Linked DNA regions of Homo sapiens: regions 1 and 3 are each linked to region 2. The links are contacts of gene promoters, found by promoter capture Hi-C in human tissues and cell types (Jung and others, 2019). All regions are on one chromosome and are shown on one strand. Each heading gives the region's core, a stretch centred on a gene start or on the middle of the fragment in contact. The rest is flanking DNA. Distances are from core to core; before and after follow the strand shown. Region 1 has its middle 6.6 kb from the start of ZNF441. Region 2 holds the start of EPOR (erythropoietin receptor). Region 3 overlaps CARM1 (coactivator associated arginine methyltransferase 1).

What was found. Contacts are between HindIII fragments. The study calls those that stand out against the background at their distance.
Region 1: a contact is called between a fragment that was not itself captured here and the fragment with the promoter of EPOR in region 2, in 1 of the 25 tissues and cell types used here (heart right ventricle).
Region 3: a fragment that was not itself captured here is called in contact with the fragment with the promoter of EPOR in region 2 in 1 of the 25 tissues and cell types used here (spleen).

What each region holds. Positions count from the first base shown.
Region 1 is chr19:11,758,232-11,762,579 of GRCh38, forward strand. No RefSeq gene overlaps it. Among named protein-coding and RNA genes, the nearest start is that of ZNF441, 6.6 kb to the right of the region's middle. The HindIII fragment of the contact is 5,499 bases long and covers 1-4,309 here.
Region 2 is chr19:11,382,279-11,386,295 of GRCh38, forward strand. EPOR (erythropoietin receptor) reads right to left here and starts at 2,036. Exons shown (of 8, transcript NM_000121.4): 1 at 1,815-2,036; 2 at 819-954. The coding sequence starts at 1,929. RefSeq lists a silencer at 1,276-1,335. The HindIII fragment of the contact is 19,405 bases long and covers 1-4,017 here.
Region 3 is chr19:10,897,736-10,901,610 of GRCh38, forward strand. All of the region lies in intron 1 of CARM1 (coactivator associated arginine methyltransferase 1), which reads left to right. Among named protein-coding and RNA genes, the nearest start is that of CARM1, 28 kb to the left of the region's middle. RefSeq lists an enhancer at 1,510-2,127. The HindIII fragment of the contact is 8,039 bases long and covers 1-3,875 here.

The DNA.
Region 1 (4,348 bases), core at 310-2,809, 380 kb after region 2:
AACTGTGGCTATCATCGGAACAGTAATATTCACGTGGGAATTCTTAGTACTGTTTTCCAAGGAAATTATTTTGCAGACACACTTAACAGCTATGTCCCATTTAAGTATGTTTTTGAAGAAAATTTTCTAAGAGTGAATAAATTTAAGCCAGGATTATTCTTTTTTATTTATTTATTTATTTATTTATTTTGCTTGTTTTAAAATTTTCCTGTCTTTTTTTTTAGACGGAGTCTTGCACTTTCGCCTGAGCTGGAGTGCAATGGCATGATCTCGACTGACTGCAACGTCCTCCTCCCGGGTACATGCGATTCTCCTGCCTCAGCCTCCTAAGTAGCTGGGACTACAGGTTCACACCACCACGCCTGGCTAATTTTTTGTATCTTTAGTAGAGACAGGGTTTCACTATGTTGGCCAGACTGGTCTCGAATTCCCGACCTCCTGAACTGCGCCCCACCCCCCCACCCTTTCAAAGTGCTGGAATTATAGGTGTGAAAAATTTCCTGTCACTTTAAGAATTATTCCAAAGACATATCTTTCTCTTCCTAGGGCAAATTACCTTAGATTTCTTCTGGGAATTTTGTACTAATCTTTAATGTTTTGGTCTTCCCATTTCATTCCTAAAATGTAGACCCAGAAGAATCACTATATATTATTATAAAATTACATTGAGGCCGGGGGCGGTGGTTCACGCATGTAATCCTAGCACTTTGGGAGGCCGAGGTGGGTGGATCGTCTGAGCTCAGGAGTTCGAGACAAGCTTGGGCAACACAGTGAAACCCCGTCTCTACTAAAAAATACAAAAAAATATTAGCCGGGCATGGCGGCGTGCGCCTGTAGTCCCAGCTACTCGGGAGGCTGAGGCAGGAGAATCAGTTGAACCCAGGAGGCAGAAGCTGCAGTGAGCCAAGATCGTGCCACTACACTCCAGCCTGGGTGACAGAGCAAGACTCCATCTCAAAAAAAAAATAATAATAAATAAAAATAAAATTATATTAAAAATGTAAGATTTTATGTAGACTGCAGTTATGGATGATTTATTCACCAAACCACAGTTGACTCTTCAACAACACAGGTTTGAACTGCATAGATCTCCTTACATACAAATTTTCTTCAGTTTCTGCTACTACTGAGACAGCAAGACCAACCCCTCCTCTTATTCAGCCTACTCAATGTGAAGACAATAAGGATGATAACATTTATGATGCTCCACTTCTACTTAATGAAATAGTAAATATAGTTTTTTCTCCTTGTGATTTTCTGATTAACATTTTTCTCTGCCTTAGTTTATTGTGAGAAAACAATATGTAATGCATATGACATATAAAATATGTGTTAATTGAATGTATATCTTACCAGTAAGGTTTCTGGTCAACAGTAGGCTATTAGTAGTCAAGTTGCGGGGGAGAAAAAAGTTATTTGAAGATTTGTGACTGCATTGAGGGCTGGTGCCCCTAATCCCTGCATTGTTCAAGGGTCAAACGTATTTCTTTTATATTCTAAATCTTTGAACAGCATTGGTGACGAAGAAACAAATATTCGTAATTGACTAAGTAAAGACATGATGTCCCCCTTACCTATACAGTCTAGGTTCCTGATGGTTTCCCGTAGCACATCTCTGTAGAGACTCTTCTATGATGGACCCAGCAAAGCCCACTCCTCCCAGGCAAAAGATCAAAGCCACATCCTCAAAGGCCACTGAGTCCTGAAACACCCGACACGTGCAGAGGAGGAAAGCTGAAACTGACAGCACTGGGAATCTGTACTCACTACATAAATGTCACATGATGCTGTGGTGTCCAAACATTTATGCAACGACACGGTAATCCAACTCTTACCCTCTTTCTAAACTCATTTTCTCCCAGAATGCAATTCTAATGCTAGAATTAAACGTGTTTGGTAAAATAACAGTCGAATTATAAAATGCCACTCCTTGGTGAGTTAAAGGAGTGACATTTATTGCCTAGATCACCCCTAATATCTATGTGTACAGGATGTTTGTAATTCCTGATGTGACAAAGTCCTCCTACCTAATGGGCAGAAGAGTTAACATCAGCTGTCCTGAGACCGCATATTGTTACAAATGCTTGCTCACAAAGTTGAACCTTTCACTATATCTAGGAACTAAATTTAGTTAGGGGGCTTCACCAACATAAGCGATAATGGAGGATGAGTGTCCCTAAACTATGTAAAAAATATGGTATCTGCTGAACTCCTATGTTCCCTCTGAGAGTTCAAACTTTTGTGATATGCTTGGCAGAGGGAGCATACCTGATCATTCACTACTAGGTTTTTTGCTTGTTTTTGTTTTTGTTTTTGTTTTTTTTGAGACAGAGTCTTGCTCTGTCTCCAGGCTGGAGTGCAGTGGCGCAATCTCGGCTCACTGCAACCTCCGCCTCCTGGGTTCAAGCGATTCTCCTGCCTCAGCCTCCCGAGTGGCTGGGATTACAGGCGCACACCACCATGCCCAGCTAATTTTTGTATTTTTAGTAGAGACAGGGTTTCACCATGTTGGCTAGGATGGTCTCGATCTCTTGACCTCGTGATCCACCCACCTCAGCCTCCCAAAGTGCTGGGATTACAGGAGTGAGCCACCGCGCCCGGCCATTCACTGCTAGGTTTGAATGTTTGTCCCCTCCAAAATGCTTGTTGAAACATAATCGCCAATGTGGCACTAATGAAAGGTGAGGCCTTTAAGAGGTGAGTAGATCTTAAGGGTTCAGACCTCATAAATAAATTAATCCATTCATGAATTCATGGCTTACTGAATTAATGAGTTATCTCAGGAGTGGGACTGATGGCCATATTAAAAAAGAAGGGAACCTGAGCTACCACATTCAGCCCATTCTCCATGTGATACCTTCAACCACCTAGAAACTCTGCACAGCCCCCATGACCAAGAAGGCTTTCACCACATGAAGCCCTCTTACTTGCTAGGTTCCAGAACTATAATAAATAATTTTTTTTGTTGTTTTTTGGCTTTTCTTTTTAGATGGACTCTTGCTTTGTTGCCCAGATGGGAGTGCAGTGGCACGATCTCGGCTCACTGCAACCTCTGCCTCCTCCTGGGTTCAAGCAATTCTCCTGTCTCAGCTTCCTTAGTAACTGGGACTACAGGTACATGCTACCACACTTGGATAATTTTTGTATTTTTAATAGAGACAGGGTTTCACTATGTTGGCCAGGCTGGAAGAAATATTGTTTTTTAAATAAATTACTCAGCTTCTACTATTCTGTTATAAGCAACAGAAAACATACTAGGATAAGCATGAAAAAACCACTCACCACTGGGTCTCTTATGAGCTTTTTTTGGTAGATAACATTTCCCACATTTTGTCACAACTTGTTACTTAAAGGATAAAGCCCATCCAATCTGAACACATTATAGGAGACTATTTGGAAGGTGGCATCTGCTTTCCTCTAGACCAAATTCAGTTAAGTATGACAAAAGACTAATGAAAGATGTCTCACTATCCCAATGGGAAACTTACGCTTTTTATTGGGTAATAACAAAGGATAATAAAGAAGGAAAAAGATTGCACATGTTCACTCCTGTAATCCCAACACTTTGGGAGGCTGAGGCGAGTGAATCACCTGAGGTTGGGAGTTCAAGACCAGCCTGAACAACATGGAGAAACCCCATATCTACTAAAAATACAAAAAATTAGCCGGGCATGGTGGTGCATGCCTGTAATCCCAGTTACTCGGGAGGCTGAGATAGGAGATTCGCTTGAAGAACCTGGGAGGCGGAGGTTGCGGTGAGCCGAGATCGCGCCATTACACGCCAGCCTGGGCAACAAGAGCGAAACTCCATCTCAAAAAAAAAAAAAAAAAAAAAAGGAAAGAACTCAATATCACCTCTCATAAATATCTATGCTAGTCCCTAAATCCCTAAAACAGTTGTTTTAATAGTGAACAAAAATTGCATTAGCAAATCTAGTAGGAATCACAAATGTCTAAAAGTGAGAAAAATGTTGGAACAGAAACATGAAATCTTGCCTGAAATACATAAAGGATTCAAGGGTGAAATATGCAAGACACTATACTATTAATCGAGAGATAAACAAATAGAAATAGGAATGTGAATAATGGTAGGAAAGCCTAGCAGAGTTTTTAAAGTTTCTTCTTATTCTAATCTCTCCTCCACTTCAGTGACAGTCTTGAGGACAACAGCCTAGGTTCCCAGTGTGAGATCCTGGTCACTGATTCTAAAGAGAGCAGATCAGATTTAATGTGCAAATTATTGCCTTTGTATGTTACAATCTGTTTTGGGCCTTTCCAAAGGTCTCAAACAAGGCTGTCTTCTCTGTTTCATCTATGTTGGAAGCCAATTAGAATAAACACTAGCAGG
Region 2 (4,017 bases), core at 786-3,285:
CAGCCTCAAATTCTGGGGCTTAAGGGATCCTCCCACCTCAGCTTCCCAAGTAGTTGAGACCACAGGCACGCGCCACGCCTGGCTTTTTTTTTTTTTTTTTTTGAGACGGAGTTTCGCTCTTGTTGCCCAGGCTGGAGTGCAATGGCGCTACCTCGGCTCACCGCAACCTCCGCCTCCCGGGTTCAAGCGATTCTCCTGCCTCAGCCTCCCGAGTAGCTGGGATCACAGGCATGCGCCACCACGCCCGGCTAATTTTGTATTTTTAGTAGAGATAGAGTTTCTCCATGTTGGCCAGGCTGGTCTCAAACTCCCGACCTCAGGTGATCCGCCCGCCTCAGCCTCCCAAAGTGCTGGGATTACAGGCGTGAGCCACCGCGCCCAGTCTAATTTTTTTTTAAGAGACGGGGATCTCGCTGTGTTGCCCAGGCTGGTCTTGAACTCCTGGGCTCAAGCGGTTCTTCCGCCTCGACCTTCCAAAGAGTTGGGATTACAGGCATGAGCCACTGCTGGCCTCCTTTTGGATACTACCTCGAGAAGGCGTCCCAGCCCCGACGTAGTAACGCCTTACCCTCGATTTGGAGGCGTTGTTATCCCAGCCTGATGTTTGGGGTCGCGTTCCAGCGGTGATCGCGGGAGTGTTCGCGCCCCGGCCCATAGAGGGCGTGCCAGCCCTGGACCCGCAGGTTTCCCTCCAGTGACCACGACTGGAGGCGCCGTCGGGCCTCAAACAGCAGGGGACATACGAGGCTACGACCTCCAGGGAGCTCTGCCCCACCCCCTCCCTCCGCCCTTGGAGGCACCCGCCGGATCGGACTCACTCGAGCTGGTAGGAGAAGCTGTAGTTGCCCGGGCCCACCCCAGCGCTCGCCGCTTCCTCCCAGAAACACACCAAGTCCTCCAACCGCTCGGTGAAGCACAGAAGCTCTTCGGGCCCCCGGGCCGCCAGCAAGGCCGCTGGGGAGGGGCGACAAAGGAAGGGCATGGGGGTCTGAGCTCTATCCTCGGGAGACAGCCCCCTCCTCTTCCCTCCCGCAGCCTGGGCGGACCCGATAAGAAAAAAGCCCCGCCCTGCCATCTTCCCAAGCGGGTCCCTTGGAGGGGTCCGCAGAGGTGGTGCCCCCCTAATTCCCAGGGGCAAGTTTCTCGCCTTACTGTCCCCCGCCGTCACCACTGGCGCACACCTGCCCACCCAGCGGCCAGCTGAGCTGGGCGCGGCGTTCAAGACCTCGAGCTCGGGACTGCCAGCCCCGCCCCAGCCTAGGACACGCGCGCGGCTGGGGGTGTGTGCGGAGAGGCGGGCCCCCTATCGGCCCCGGCAGGCTCCCCGCCAACCGATAGCGCCAACCGTGCCCCCCGCCTCCCTCCCTCCACCGGGCCGGGCAAGTGATCTGGCGCCCTCACACAAACCGTGTTTACAGTAGCCTGTGGCTTGGCCCCTCTAACTCGGACCCGGGCTTTACCCTCCCTCCCCTAGGGAGGGTCGGCTTGGTCCCCACCCCCCAGGGACCTTAGCACCAAGTCAGCCCCCTTAGGATTTAGCATGTCCCAGACTCCCTGAAAAGGTAAAACGGGAATGTTAAGCCCACTCTAGCTCTTGCCCGGGACGCGATCAGGAGTCTTGGATCCTAACATACCCCACCCCGCCCCCCACCCATCCAGGACCCAGTCTAAGGGTTCAGATGCCAGCTTGGCCCCCAGGACCCGGTCAGGAAGTCCAGAAACAGGCATGGCCCCCAGGACCTAGGCTGGGAGTTCAGGCCCCAGCATGGTCCTGCAGGCTCCAGCGTAGGGGTCCACACGCAGCTCATCCTTACCTTTGCTCTCGAACTTGGGGTCCGGGAGGTTAGGCGGGGGCGCCCAGGCGGCCCCAGCGAGCAGGAGACAAAGGGAGCCGACCTGGGGCCAGAGGGACGCCCCGAGGTGGTCCATGATACAGCCCCCGCCACGGGGAGCCCAGGGCTCCTGCCCCTCCGTCCCCCGCCCCCGGCACAGTCCACAGCTGGGTCAGCAGCTGCCTCCGCCGGACGCAGCTGACCAGGCCCTTCCCGACCAGGCGCCTCTAAGTGGCAGATCCCCGAGGGGGCGGGGCCAGCACTCAGCCTGGGTAGAGATAAGTGCCTGGCGGGAGGAGGCAGGGGCCCTTCCCGAGCCCAGAGGCCGCTTGGGGGCAGGGGAGGGAGTTGGGCCGCAACAGCTCCCGTTCTGGCTTCAGACACACGTTTTTTTTTTCTTTGTGGCCCTGGACAGGTGACTTACCTTACCTGAGCTTCAGACTTCTCATCTGTAAAATCTAGCCTGGCACATAGCGAACATTCCAAAAAATGTACCTACTGATTTTATCGCAGAAATCAGCATCTCTTCCCAGCCTGGAAATAAATAAAAATTATTTTCTCTCTCTCTCTCTCTCTCTCTCTCTCTCTCTCTCCTTTCCTTCCTTCCTTCCTTCCTTCCTTCCTTCCTTCCTTCCTTCCTTCCTTCCCTCCTTCCCTCCTTCCCCCTCTCTCTCTCTGTCTCAGGGTGTTGCTCTGTCACCCAGGCTGGAGTGCAGTGGCACAATCATAGCTCACTGCAGCCTCTGGACTGAAGCAATCTTCCCACTGCACCTGGCTAATTTTTAAAATTCTTTGTAGAGATGGGATCCCACTATGTTGTCCAGGCTGGTCTTGAAATCCCGGACTTAAGCAATCCTCCAGCCTCCATCTCCCAATGTGCTGGGAATACCAGCACGAGCCACTGAAGCCGGCCAATAATAATCCTTGCAACGACCAGCAGTTGAGTGTTTGCACAGTGCTAGGCCATGCTCCTGGGCAGTATGCATAATATGTGAGATTTTCATTTACGAATTTTTGGGAAAAAAATTTTTACCACCCACATTTTTATTCTCTTGGGCTGGGCCCGGTGGCTCACGCCTATAATCCCAGCACTTTGGGAGGCCGACGTGGGCAAATCACTTGAGGTCAGGAGTTTGAGACCAGCCTGGCCAACATGGTGAAATCCCATCTCTACTAAAAATACAAAAATTAGCCAGGTGTGGTGGCGTGTGCCTGTAATCCCAGCTACTCAGGAGGCTGAGGCATGAGAACTGCTTCAGTCTGGGAGATGAAGATTGCAGTGAGCCAAGATCATGCCACTGCAACTCCAGCCTGGGCAACAGAGTGAGACTGCATCTCAAAAAATAATAATAATTGGCTGGGCGCGGTGGCTCATACCTGTAATCCCAACACTTTGGGAGGCCGAGACAGGCGGATCATGAGGTCAGGAGTTCGAGACCAGCCTGGGCAACATGGCGAAACCACGTCTCTACTAAAAATACAAAAATTAGCCAGGCGTAGGCCGGGCGCGGTGGCTCACGCCTGTAATCCCAGCACTTTGGGAGGCCGAGGTGGGCAGATCACGAGGTCAAGAGATCAAGACCATCCTGGCCAACATGGTAAAACCCCATCTCTACCAAAAATACAAAAATTAGATGGGCGTGGTGCTGCATGCCTGTAATCCCAGCTACTTGGGAGGCTGCAGGAGAATCGCTTGAACCCAGGAGCCGGAGGTTTCAGTGAGCCGATATTGTGCCACTGCACTCCAGCCTGGTGACAGAGCGGGACTCCGTCTCAAAAAATATATATATATATTCGAGCGTGGTGGTGGGTGCCTGTAATCCCAGCTACTCAGGAGGCTGAGGCAGGAGAATTGCTTGAAACCAGAAGGCAGAGGTTGCAGTGAGCTGAGATCACACCATTGCACTCCAGGCTGTGCAACAAGATTGAAACTCTGTTTCAAAAAAATAAATAAATAGTCCATGCACAGTGGCTCATGCCTGTAATCCCAGCACTTTGGGAGGCCGAGGTGGGTGGATCACAAGGTCAGGAGATCGAGACCATCCTGGCTAACACAGTGAAACCCTGTCTTTACTAAAAATAGAAAAAATTAGCCGGGCGTGGTGGCGGGTGCCTGTAGTCCCAGCTACTCGGGAGGCTGAGGCAGGAGAATGGTGTGAACCCAGTGGGTGGAGCTTGCAGTGAG
Region 3 (3,875 bases), core at 526-3,025, 480 kb before region 2:
TCAGCACTTTGGGAGGTCGAGGTGGGTGAATCACCTGAGATCAGGAGTTTGAGATCAGCCTGGTCAACGAGGTGAAACCCTGTCTCTAGGCTGGATGCGGTGGCTCACTCCTGTAATCCCAGCACTTTGGGAGGCTGAGGCAGGCGGATCACGAGGTCAGGAGATCGAGACCATCCTGGCTAACACGGTGAAACCCCGTCTCTACAAAAAATACAAAAAAAATTAGCCGGGCGAGGTGGCGGGCGCCTGTAGTCCCAGCTACTCGGGAGGCTGAGGCAGGAGAATGGCGTGAACCCCAGGGAGTGGAGCCTGCAGTGAGCCAAGATTGCGCCACTGCACTCCAGCCTGGGAGACAGCGAGACTCCGTCTCAAAAAAAAGAAAAAAAAAAAAAGAAACCCTGTCTCTAATAAAAATACAAAAATTAGCCAGGTGTGGTGGTGCATGCCTGTAATCCCAGCTACTCGGGAGGCTGAGACAGGAGAATCGCTGGAACCTGGGAGATGGAGGTTACGGTGAGCTGAGATTTTGCCACTGCACTCCAGTCTAGGCGACAGAGTGAGACTTAGTCTCAAAAAAAAAAGATACCCCAGCTGTGGCCTGGCCTCAATTGGCCTGAACTCACCACGGCCTCCTGGCTCTAGAGTCTGCTTTTTGGTCACCCTTGCCTGCTAGCCCTGCAGCCTGTCCCCCACCTCTCCAGGCCATGTGCACACAGTCCCCAACATGCGCCGGCTGATGCCGCAACAGTGGTGCTTTTTGGATTTGTCTCTAGAGGCCAACACAGAGGGCCTTTCTGAATCCTGGGGTCCTGCCCCCTTCCGCGGCTCCCATACTGCTCCTCCCCAGCTGAATGGCCGCTTTGGGAGGTGGTTGCTGGCCTTGAGAGGATGCCACAGTGAGTTTCCTGCGGGCAGGGCTGCATCTGTGGCGAGCACTGAATCGCCACTGCTGGATCCAGATGCCTGTGCGTCCCGGGCCCCAAGGCTCCCTTCTACCCTCCTCCTGGGGTGCTGTTCGCAAGCCAGGAGACAGGCTGTGCATTCCCTGCCTACTCAGAGGTGACCCTGGGCCAGGTGTGCGATGGCCCACTGGACCCATAGTAGCAGAGGGAGGGGAGAGGAAGGGAGAAAGTGGGAACAGCATGTGCAGAGGCCTGGGGCCTGGCCCATGTAGGGACTAGAGGGTTGAGTGTGTCCATGGGGAGGGGCCAAGACGGGGAGAGCCATGAGGAATGATGGGCACAGAGCTCAGAGGCTCGGGAGTCTCCTGAACAAAGAGAGGAACACGGCTTAGCTTGTTTTTTTTTTTTTTTTTTTTGGTTTGTCAGTATTTCCCAGGTGTCTTCTGTGTGCCAGGGACTAACTTGGGGATAAAGCTGTGACTTTGAGAAGCTGCCGGCTCCGCGGGCTTTAGCAGCTGCTGCTGTGATGAAGCGATCCACTTGCCCTCAGCCCCGGCATCTTTGGCCCAAGCCCAGCCCTAGCCCTGGCTGGGCACAGCCAGGCTTCACTTGGCCACAGGTCCTGTAGTTGCCTGCCTGGCGCCAGGTCAGAGAGGGACGCCTCAGGCAACATCGGGTTGCCAGGCTGCTTGGTAAACAGGCCTCCCTGGGCCCACTTGCTGTCGCCCAGGTGTGGCTAACAGATCGACAGTATCTCCTGCCCCAGGACGGGTATGAGTGTGGGCACCATGCCAAGGTTGGATGTCCCTTCCTGGGACCCACCCACAGCTGGGAGCACTTTATCTTGGGCCTCTGTGGGTGTAGTGAGGCTGTGAGTCTGGGGCAGTGGCCTGCTGACACCCTCCTGGCAGGGCTCAGGAGGTTCCTCCATGCCCTGCCCTCAGGAGGGCGGCACCTGGCTCCTGGGGTGGGAGAGAGTCTGGCAGGACTGGCTGGGTGTGGCCGGGGAGCTGCCCTTCAGGTCTCATATCTGTAGGCCCTCATACCTGGACTCGTCAGTTAGGAACAGTTTTCTTTTTCTTTTTCTTTTTTTTTTTTTTTGAGACGGAGTCTCACTCTGTCGTCCAGGCTGGAGTGCAGTGGTGCCATCTCGGCTCACTGCAACCTCCACCTCCCGGGTTCAAGCGATTCTCCTGCCTCAGCCTCCTGAGTAGCTGGGATTACAGGCACCCGCCATCATGCCTTGCTAATTTTTGTATTTTTAGTAAAGACGGGGTTTTGCCATGTTGGACAGGTGTGTCTCAAACTCCTGGGTTCAAGTGATCCGCCCACCTCCCAAAGTGCTGGAATTACAGGCGTGAGCCACCACGCCTGGCCCATTTTTCATTTTCTATTGAAACAAAATTCACACCTGTAATCCCAGCACTTTGGAGGCCAAGGTGAGAGGATCACTTGAGCCCCAGGAGTTTCAGACTAGCCTGGGCAACATAGTGAGACCCTCATTTCTACAAAAAAATAAACAAAATTAGCCAGGGGTGGTGGCATGTGCGTGAGGTTCCAGCTACCCGGGAGGCTGAGGTGGGAGGATGTCTTGAGCCTGGGAGGTCAAGAGCTGTTGTTTCATAACATGAAATTAGCCCTTTTACAATGTTGCATAACAATCACCTCTATCTACTCCCAAAATATGTTTGTCACCCCAAAAGGAGACCCCACATCCATTAAGCAGTTGCTCCCCATTCCTGCCTTCTCCCAGCTCTCAGCCACCAGCAGTGTGCCTTCTGTGACTATTTCATATAAATAGAATCATTTGTGTCTGGCTTCTTTCGGCATGATGTTTCTGCTATTCATTCATGTTGCAGCATGGCTCAGTGCTTCCTTTATTTTTATGGCTGAATAATGTTTCATTTTATAGATAAGCCATATTTGTTTATCTGTTTGTCAGTTTATGGACATTTGGGTTGTATTTCTATCTTGTGTCTGTCGTGAATAAGTACTGCTGTGAATGCTTGCATACGAGTGTCTGTTGGTTTTTTTTGCTTTGTTTTGTTTTTATTTTTATTTTTTTGAGATGAGTCTGGCTCTGTCGCCCAGGCTGGGGTGCAGTGGCGTGATCTCGGCTCACCGCAAGCTCCGCCTCCCAGGTTCCTGCCATTCTCCTGCCTCAGCCTCCCGAGTAGCTGGGACTACAGGCACCCGTCACCACACCCGGCTAATTTTTTGTATTTTTAGTAGAGACGGGGTTTCACCGTGTTAGCCAGGATGGTCTCGATCTCCTGACCTTGTGATCCACCCGCCTCGGCCCCCCAAAGTGCTGGGATTACAGGTGTGAGCCACTGCACCCGGACTTTTTTTTTTTTTTTCTGAAGCGGAGTCTCACTCTGTTGCCCAAGCTAAAGTGCAGTGGCGCTATCTCAGCTCACTGCAACCTCCACCTCCCTGATTCAAGCAATTCTCCCTGTCTCAGCTTCCTGAGTAGCTGGGACTACAGGCACCCACCATCATGTCTGGCTAATTTTTGTGTTTTTAGTAGAGACGGCATTTTGCCATGTTGACCAGGCTGGTCTTGAACTCCTGACCTCAGGTGATCTGCCTGCCTCGGCCTCCCAAAGTGCTGGGATTACAGGCATGAGCCACTGCACTTGGCCAGCTTTTTGTTTGTTTGTTTGTTTTTGTTTTTGTTTTTTTAAAGAGGTGGAGTCTTGCTATGTTGCCCAGGCTGGAGTGCAGTGGCTGTTCACAGGCAGTCATAGCTAACTGCAACCTTGAGCTCCCGGGCTCAAGCAATCCTTCCACCTCAGCCTCCCGAGTAGCTGGGATCTCAGGCATGCACCACCATGCCCGGCTAATTTTGTTTATTTTTTTGTAGCGATAGAGATGGGGTCTTACTATGTTGCCCAGGCTGACCTTGAACTCCTGGCCTCAAGTTATCCTCCCATCTTGGCCTCCCAAAGTGCTGGGATTACAGGCATGAGC